2 separate regions of the Homo sapiens genome follow, and region 2 is linked to region 1. The links are contacts of gene promoters, found by promoter capture Hi-C in blood cells and fetal thymus (Javierre and others, 2016). All regions are on one chromosome and are shown on one strand. The core of a region is centred on a gene start or on the middle of the fragment in contact, and the rest is flanking DNA. Distances in the headings are between cores, read along the strand shown. Region 1 holds the start of XPNPEP1 (X-prolyl aminopeptidase 1). Region 2 has its middle 21 kb from the start of SMC3.

The links. Contacts are between HindIII fragments. The CHiCAGO score rates a contact against its expected background, and 5 or more counts as called.
Region 2: a contact is called between a fragment that was not itself captured here and the fragment with the promoter of XPNPEP1 in region 1, in 3 of 17 cell types (naive CD8 T cells, non-activated CD4 T cells and naive CD4 T cells). The highest score is 5.4, in naive CD8 T cells.

Annotation. Positions count from the first base shown.
Region 1 is chr10:109,920,917-109,925,514 of GRCh38, reverse strand. It overlaps XPNPEP1 (X-prolyl aminopeptidase 1), which reads left to right and starts at 2,004. Exons shown (of 21, transcript NM_020383.4): 1 at 2,004-2,113. The coding sequence starts at 2,082. RefSeq lists a silencer at 1,789-2,328. The HindIII fragment of the contact is 9,615 bases long and covers 1,597-4,598 here.
Region 2 is chr10:110,544,482-110,549,079 of GRCh38, reverse strand. No RefSeq gene overlaps it. Among named protein-coding and RNA genes, the nearest start is that of SMC3, 21 kb to the left of the region's middle. The HindIII fragment of the contact is 640 bases long and covers 2,345-2,984 here.

The DNA.
Region 1 (4,598 bases), core at 755-3,254:
AAACAAAAAAACTTCAAGAGGGGAAAGGGTTCCTTTTTTTATCTTGCAAACAGGAACTCAAATCCAGCTCAGGGAATGCAAGGTATTTCTCTCTCTCCCCTGAAGCTGGATGCCGTAAATTCTGAGCCAACTCCTTTTCTTTTAGGCAATGTGATTATTAAATACCTGTCCCCCTTAAGTTTCACTTATCTCTCTCTCTCTTATCTCGTTTTCTCTTATAACTTGATTTTTCCCACCAGCTTTCAGATGTGGGCTGGAACCAGTATTTTATTTACAATCTCTCTGTTTTTGGCTTCATAAATTTGGGGAAATGCAACAGATGTGTGCTGCTTTCCCAGGAAGCACATCTTTAGTTTTTTCATGCTTTAACTACACAGTCTAATTCGGCTTGCCTAAATGCTTATTCAATAACGACTTTGAGTTCTTGCAGGTAGCAGAACCTAGCTGATACAGGTATATTAGGCCTTACACCAAGGTCAAAGCAGGAGGAGGTGCCATTCACCTTTAAAAAAATGTGGTCACTTTCATTTAGTGCCAGGTGTTGTTCTAAGCACCAGGGAAATAACAATGAACAAGAGAGCCACCATCCCTGCTTTTGAGGAGTGCACATTCTGAAACATTCATTTCTGCAGAAAATATATAATGAGAACTTATGACATGTTAGATATTGTTCATCATTAAACAAAACAGAAACAATCTGCACTGATGGTTTTGTTGTGTGCGTGGGTGGTGGCAGGAGAGGGGGAAGAATACAGTACACATAAGTACATTAAAAGAATCCTGTTAAAAGGTGGTAAGTGCTATGGAAAAAATGAAGTAGGGTAAGGCGGATTAGGAATATTGGAATGATTTACAAATTTAAATAGGATGGTCAGGGTAGGTGATACTTGAACGAAGACTTGAAGGAAAATGAGGAAGGGAGCCTCAATATTTGGGGGATGAGCAAGTCCAAAAGCCCTGGGACATGAGTGTACCCTGCTTTTTCAAGGAGAGCCAGGAGGCCATTTCAGCTGAAGAAGAGTGAGGAAGGTGAGAACAGGAGGAAATGTGGCTGGGGGTAGATCAAATGGAGCTTTTATGCTGCGTGAAACGAGAAATTAATGGAAAGTGCTGAGCAAAGAAGTGACCTGGTGTCACGCTTCAAAGGACTGGTCTGGCGGCTTTGTTCAGGCTGGACTGTGCAGGTGCGGGATGGTGAGGGGATATTTGGGGGGCTGCTGTAACCACACGGGTGGGGTGGTACAACCCTCTGATGCACATCAGAGGGTAGGAGGTGGAGGTGGTGTGACACGGCCAGATTAGGGGTCTATTTTGGAGGCAGGGCCAACAAGATTTTGCTGGCAGATTAGATGTGGGGTGTGAAAGAGAAGAGGCAGGGAGGATTCCTAAATTTTGCCTCTTAAGAATAGAGTAGCCATTGATTGAGATGGCAAAGAAGACTGGTGGAGAACGTTTTTGCTTTGCTTCGGTGCATTGGGAGTTCCAGGAGTTCCGTTTGGACGTTAAGTTTGAAGGGGCTATTTACTATCCAAGCGGAGCGGAGAGCTGGATTTTGAAGCTCTCTGGGAACATACTTTTGGGGACATTTCTAAAGCTTGAGACCCTGTTCCAAAGCCTCGAAGACCCTGTCGAGGTTCTTCCGGAGCCGGCCACGTCCCTCTCTTCTCAGCCCTCCTAAATTAAGCCGGAAAATCCCTGGGACAGTAGCCCCTTTATTCGGCAAAGCCCTTTTTCCTCTTTGAGGAATGACGACAAAAACGAACAAAAATGAAGACACTCAGCAGCACTGCGTCCTTTCCCCGCTCGCTGCAGGGAGAGGCAATGCGGACTGGTGTGGAAGGGCAGGCCCCGCTCTGGGCCGCAGGCGCTGCGGCCGCGAACCCCAGGTCCGGGAGTGTGGGCGGGGCCTGCGTGTGGGCGGGGCCGCGGCGCCAGCGCCCGCCACGGGCGAGGGCGTGGCCGACCCGGCGCTAGCCCGCCCGCCCGCCCGCCGGCTCTCGCGCCTCCTTCGCGCCGGCCCTTCCGCGGGTGATCAGCTGGTCTGCGCTCCCCTGACGTGGGCTGGGGCACGTCACCGCCGAATGGCAGCCTCCAGAAAGCCACCGCGAGTAAGGTGAGGGCACTCCGCCGGCAGCCGGCGTCCGGGCAGCGTGCAGCCCTCGCTGCGCGGCCGCGCGTGTTGCACCTCGGCGGGCAGGGACGCGCGGGTGAGGAGCCCGGCCCGCCGCAGTCTGGCGAGGGCCGCGCTCGCCGGAGCCCCGGAACAGGAGCCGGGGGAAGGGGTCCATGAGGCCGGGCGAGATCCGGTTCGTTTCCGGAGGGTCGGTGGGCACGGGGCGGCCCGAGTCTGGTTCCTGGACGCGTATGCCCGCGGAACTGCTGCACTCGGCCTGAGGGGGCGGCGGCCGTCACAGTTCCTGGCCCGCGGGAAGGCCCCGTTCTTGGAGGAAGTTGGCCCCTCTTCGTGTCCGGGGAGGTGGGCGAGCCTTTGCCCTCGCTTCTGTTACCCAGGAATCTAAACCTCAAGTTACAATCTCGACAATACTGACTCCTGCAATTCACTCTACTGATCTGTCACCGCCACAAGGATAGACGGTCGCGGGCCCCTCCCTACCCAAATGGTTTCAGAGGCTGTGTAAGGGAATATTTTGGTATAATCTCCAGGAAAATCCCCCCAGTAGCCTGCCCTGGGCTCTCCTTGGGCATAGGAGGGTGAGACAGATAATTTCCCGGCCTCAAGTTAAACATGTTTTAGTTTATTCCCCTGCCATAACCAGGATGTACTTATCAGAGCCTCTGACAAAGTGGGAGACGGAGAGAGGTGTTCAGAGTTCATGGAGGCCACAGGCCAGACTCCCTGGCCATCCCCAAGGGGTCACCCACCTGCTAACCACTTGAGACATGAATGCACTCACTTTGCAGCATGGCCAGGCTTTCTTGCTGAACACAGACCATGGCTCCTGCTTGTGTTTGTGAGTAGGGGGGTCCCAAACCTACCTTGACCTGGATTTGCCGTTGCCACAGCTTGTTAAGGGTGAGCAGAAAACCAGACCCACCCTGTGGAAGTATGTGGGAGGGGTGGAGAACTTCCATCTGGAAGGAGCTTCCTGTAAGTGAAGTGCTGGAAATGGAGTCAGGCAAGTGGATAATGATGAGTTAGGCTGTAGGCCTCAGGTGGTCTTTAGGGGGCCAAGGTGATCTGTGCTAGATTTATAGACTCACAGCCTTTTAGGAGCAGAAGAGTCTTTTCTACACCAGCTGGTAGAGTCTTTTTTACCTCAAAGGAAAGTCCAGTGAAAGGCTGAGAGAGGGGAAGCCATTTTCCACAGGCGCCTCCCCTACTGGTAGAATTTGAGTGCCATTCCTTGTAAAAGTGAGCACTTCTTTCAGTTTCGGTAATGGAAACTGAACTCAAATTGATTTACCTAAAATGGGGTTGAGCTGGCTTCTAGTGTGGCTGAATCCGGGAGCACCACCAACATTGGCTTCAGACTTCTCTTTATCATCTCTTGGCTCTGATTTATTCAGTATCCGCTTCATTCTCAGGGAGACTTTCTCCTTATGGCAGGTTATGACAGTTCTAGGCTGACAGCCCCAGCAGAGAAGTTGAGCCCTCCTTCCTAATGGAGCAGAAGTCCCTGATCTGATGCTCACTGGGCTGCCTTAATTCTCATGTTCATCTGTGAACCAATCATTATGGCCAGAGGGAGGGATTGACCTGCTTTGGGTCCCAGAGCCTGTTAGGTGTTTGGATAAGACTGCTTTGAACCCCTTGGGCTGAAATGGAGAGGGTACATTCTCAAAAGGAAAACCAAGGTTCCCATCAAAAGGAGGGATGGATTCTGGGTAGACAAAGACAACATTGCTTACTTCCCAACCTTAGAACTTGTTCCAGTTTACCCTTGTCTCATCCACTAGGTGTGATTGAGCATCTTGTTCCTTGTTTTGCCCCATGCTGAACGCTACACATGTGTGATTCCCATGAACTGGGGGTTGCAGGGGGGTGAGGTATTCAGAACCCTGCCAGAATTTCTTGGAAAAAGAGGGAGAAGGCCTTTTCTAGTGCTACCATAACCATCTTATACAAAGATTGAAAGTGCTCTGCATGCTTCTTGCCCCTTACCCACTTTGTGGCTCATCATGAAGTTGAGAAGGTGTAGGTCGAAGAAGTTCTGGGAAGGGTAGGAGCACTGAGCTGGATGTTGGGAGGCTGGAACGCTGGTTCTAGCTCTGTCAGCAGTTAGCTGTGAGGCCTTGAGCCAGTCATTTGATCTTTGTTTCTTGGTTTCCTGGTCTAGAGGAGGGAATTGAGTTGGATAGTCCCTGAGGTATATTCTTCTAGTTCTTAATATTTAATGATAATTGTGCTTTGACAGAGAACTTAAGAATTTTATCTGTCCAAACAAGTGAAAGGTGGATAGATCTTGGACTCTGCGGAGACCAAGATACGACAAGAACAGAGCAGCTGTAGTATTGAGCTGCTTCGTAGCTCCTGTGATCCTGACAGAAAGGTGGAGGTGTTGATGCTCACACAGAGAGTTTGAGCTCACCTGTCAGACCTAGTTTCTGGTCTTGGCTTTGCGGCTACTGAGTTATAT
Region 2 (4,598 bases), core at 1,415-3,914, 620 kb before region 1:
AAATGTTAGCTGAATTAAACAGTGTCTAGTTGTGTAGTTACATAGCAAAAAAATAGTTATGCAAAGGATAATGCATGAAATTCGAGATTATTCTCTTTATTATAATATGTGTTCATATGGAAGCTGATCATAAACAACTGTTGTAGGTGAGATACGATGCTTACTGAAGAGAAAAGTACTATTAGGAATGTTTGACTGTGAAACAAACTCTTAGTGTTCCTAGAAAGTAAAACAAACATCTTTATAAGGTCCCAATGTGGTTTGGGACAATAGGCATGCTTCTTTGTGTGATATTTTTGGCATTTTAAATGCTTTTACTACTTCTAAGCAGGGAGAAAAAATGCAGCATGATTTTCAATGGCAAAGAAGATTGAAGGGCAAAAATGACAGAAGCTTGGAAGAACAGAATATCCAGAGACTGTTACAACATGCCCCATAGTTTAGCAACAATTATCAGTGATGTTAGTGATAATCTTGATATTGCATATCTGTAAAATGTTATGGTCAAACAAGTTATGGGACATTTACATTTTATTTCCATCAAAAGAAGATTCGTGCATGGGAAATTCATAGATCCATAATCTGTTGCTTTCATTGAAAGACAATTTAACTCTACAGGATAAACTGTTGGAACTGGCAATTGAATAATTGACGAATTTTGAAAATACAGAATCATTTGCTTCATTTTGAATAAAAGTGAAAGATGGAAATCCTGAGCTTCCTAAAATTGTCTTAAAATCTCTTTTTCCTTTCCCGTTAACAAAGCTCTGTGAGACTGGTTCTCCACTAACCTCTTATTAAAACAAAATATAGAAGCCAGGTGCTGTGGTACGTGCCTGCAGTCCTTCCTAGCTACAGGCAGGGGATGGGGGTGGCGGAGGGGGGCAGTCCTGAGGCGGGAGGATCGCTTGAGCCCAGGAGGCTTCAGTGAGCTATGATCTTGCCACTGCACTCCAGCCTCAGTGACACAGTGAGATCCCATTTCTAAAATAAATAAATAAGTAAACAAATAAATAAAATAATTATTCTTTATTAAATTACAACAACAACAACAACAAAAATAGAAGCAATCTCATCACACATTCTACTTTGCAAGTAGCATTATAGTCCATTCTGGCTGGGTTAGATAGGTTGGCAAGCCATAACTTGTGTATTTGTCCATTAAGAATGCTCAATATTTATATGCATGGTGTTCATTCAAAGTAGAGAAACACTATTTTACTCAAAATTTTTCATTTAGTTATAATTGCAGAACAACAAAAATTATAAATGCAATAGCAATTTATATATTAATCATATAATACACACATTCAATAAACATGTACAGATTTTGCAATTATTTTTCCCGTTATGTTTATTCTGATTATATTTATTGAAATGCAATTTTGTCTGTTGAATATGATAATAAAATTTGGTTCAATTTTGTATATCTTTGTTTTTTAATGTAATGTGTCCAGTATTAATAATTCATTTTTATTGTACAATGGATTGGTTTGCAGATTAAAATTCTTTTAAAAACTGGTTCTTCGCCAGCCAATTTGAGAAGCACTGTTCTACAGGTCAACTTTATCTGTAAAGTGAGGATGAACTGCCAACTTTGGAGCAATCACAATTTTGGATTATATAAAGTCCAGCGAGTTATCAGAAAAAAAGGGGCCATGTTCAACATCAGCAGGAAAGGCGAATGGTTATTCTGAGTGTCACATCTTCATCTTTACCACTAGAGGGCGGTGAAGAAGTTCTTGTAATTGTGGGATGCATCACAAAGCCAAAATTGCTTGTAAACCGAGAAATTGAAGCACGCAGGAAAAAAATAAAACACAGAGTAAGATCAATTACCCAGTGAACATTTGTTGGTCGCCAATACTGTCCTGTAACACACTAAGACTCAATACAGAGGTCAAAACCCAGGGTCTATTTGTAGCTAAAATTCAAAATAGTAGGTAAAATTGGGATGGACACAAGATTAAAGAGATAGCTTTGCATGATGAAGAGTCCTGGAGATTAGTTGCATAATAACATCAACATACGTTTAAAAATGCTTAAGATGGTAAATTTTGTGTTATGTGTATTTTGCCACAATTTACGGGGGTGGGAGGAAGAGAAAGAGAGAGAGATTGCTTCTTTAGCCTGGCGTGGGCAGGAACTGTCTATACCCAACCAACAGCTCTAGCTCACAAGACGTGGAGAGGAGAGGTGGAGGTACACAGGCCAATGCATCACAGGGGTTGTGGAGCCTTTGCCGTGGGACCCACACTCACACACACACATGCACTTTTATTCTTAGTTCTGCCACATATCTTAGCCCATCACTCTGCCCCAGTTTTTCAACCCCTGAAAAGCTTAGGGAGCTCGTTTGCATAATCAGTTCATTCATTCATTCATTCATGTATTTGCTTAATGTTAACTGAGCACCTACTCTGTTCCAGGCATCCTGTGAGGTGCTGGGGTACAGCTATGATAAGACAGACAACCTCTGCCCTCAACGTGTTTACAGAGAATTGCCTTTTCTAGTTGAGGCCTTGAAGGGTCCTAGGAACTGTTTTTATCTCAAGTCAGCATCTCCTTCAATCAGTGACAAGTAGGCCATTTGGAGCCGCTGTCTCTAAAGTATTCTCTTGAAACCGTAGGAAGACAAGGACACAAGAGGGAGAATAACCACAGAACCACAAAGGGATCCAAGGTTGCCTTGACAACAGGATCAGAGGAAATAGCCAAGCCCTTGAGGTGCCAGGACTGGACTCTGAGCCTGGGCCGACTGTCCATTCAATGTCACCTTTTGACTTTGACAGGACTTCACTGAAGTGAGTCTTTGAAATCCAAAGGAAGAGAGGCCCACGCACTGAGGAACTCATCCCACGTCCATCCCAGCCTTGTTCTGATTCTGGAGGAACACAGGATGTCCTCACTCCAAAGGCTGCCAGAGACTGCTGGAGGCCGCACAGGAAAATAGGCAAGAGTCTGGCTTATGATTCTAACAAGCTTCAGTTAAACTCGGGCTGGGCCTCAGAGTCGCTGTGTAACAACATATGTCTGTCTGAGCCTCAGTTTCTCTATTTGTAAAGTAGAAATAATACTAATAGTATATAGCACCTCAGGGAATGTTATGAGGATGAAATTACATAATAAATGTGAAGTTCTTAGCACAGTGCCTGGCACACAATAAGCACACACTTAATGTTGTTTAAAAAAAAAAAAAGCTGAGCTGGACTCCATCTTTTCAAATGAGAGAACTGAGGCCCAGCAGCTTAGTAATAGTGGAAAGTTGATGAATTGTGGAATTATACCCAGTTTTGGCTCTCCCAGTAGACTTTGGGAAACTCACTTAGTCTCTCTAAACCTCCGTTTTCTCATCTGTGAAACGGAACAACCAGGTTGTTCTGAGGACTACCTGAGTTATGTTAAGCACCTGGCACCAGAACCTGGCATATTGCATTGTCCAGTAAAATGTTCATTTTTTTGTTCCTCTCTGTGGTTGTCCAGAGTCAAACTTGGTTCTAACTTTAAAATTGCAGCCCTCAAGGAGTTCATGCTCACCTTCACAATGCAAGCTTGGAAGTCAAGCAGCTCTCAACTCAAATCCAGTTCCTGACCTTGGGCACATTACTTAGCTTTTTTCTTTCTGCTGCAGTTTCCTAGTCTGTAAAATGAAGATCATAATAGTACCTCCTTCCCAGTGCTGGCATGAGGATTATGTTTTCTTTTGAAGTGTCCCATAAATGTTTATTATTATGTCCTGCAATCATGGCCCTAATCAAGAGGCTCTCAAGTAGATAAGTAGTATGCTTATATTTTGGTTTATTTGTGTACTAGGCTGTTATCAGAGCTGGGATTCACAGAGTTAGACAAGACTCCTGCTCTTGAGCTGCCCACAGTCTAGGAGAAGAGACTTAAGCAATAGCCTCATGACTGTGGTCAAGGGCTTTGATGAGATGCTGGGTGGCCAGTGGTTAAGAATACAGATTCTGGAGCCAGACAGCTGAAGTTTGACCTCAGTCCTGCCACTCTGTGATCTTGTGCAAGATATACTTAACCTCTCTGTGCCTCTATAAAATAAGGATAGCAATAGCACTTGGTTCATAGGGCTATTAGGGAAAGTTCAGTGGTTTCATATCTGCTTAGAACAGGGCCTGGCACATAGTAAGCACTCTATGCAGGCTCCTTCAATGAATAAAAGCTTACATACAGGCCGGATTCGGTGGCTCATGCCTGTAATCCCAGCACTTTGGGAGGCCGAGGCGGGCGGATCACTAGGTCAGGAGATCGAGACCACCCTGGCTAACACGGTGAAACCCCATCTCTACTAAAAATACAGAAAAATTAGCCAGGCGTGGTGACGGGCACCTGTAGTCCCAGTTACTCTGGAGGCTGAGGCAGAAGAATGGCGTGAACCTGGCAGGCAGAGCTTGCAGTGAGCCAAGATCACACCACTGCACTCCAGCCTGGGCGACAGAGCGAGACTCCATCTCAATAAATAAATAAATAAATAAATAAATAAATAAATAAATAAAATAAAAGCTTACATACAAATGACATTGGTAGCATTCAGAGGAGAGAGTATAGTTCTAGAGGAGGAAGTAAGGAAACCCATAAGAAAT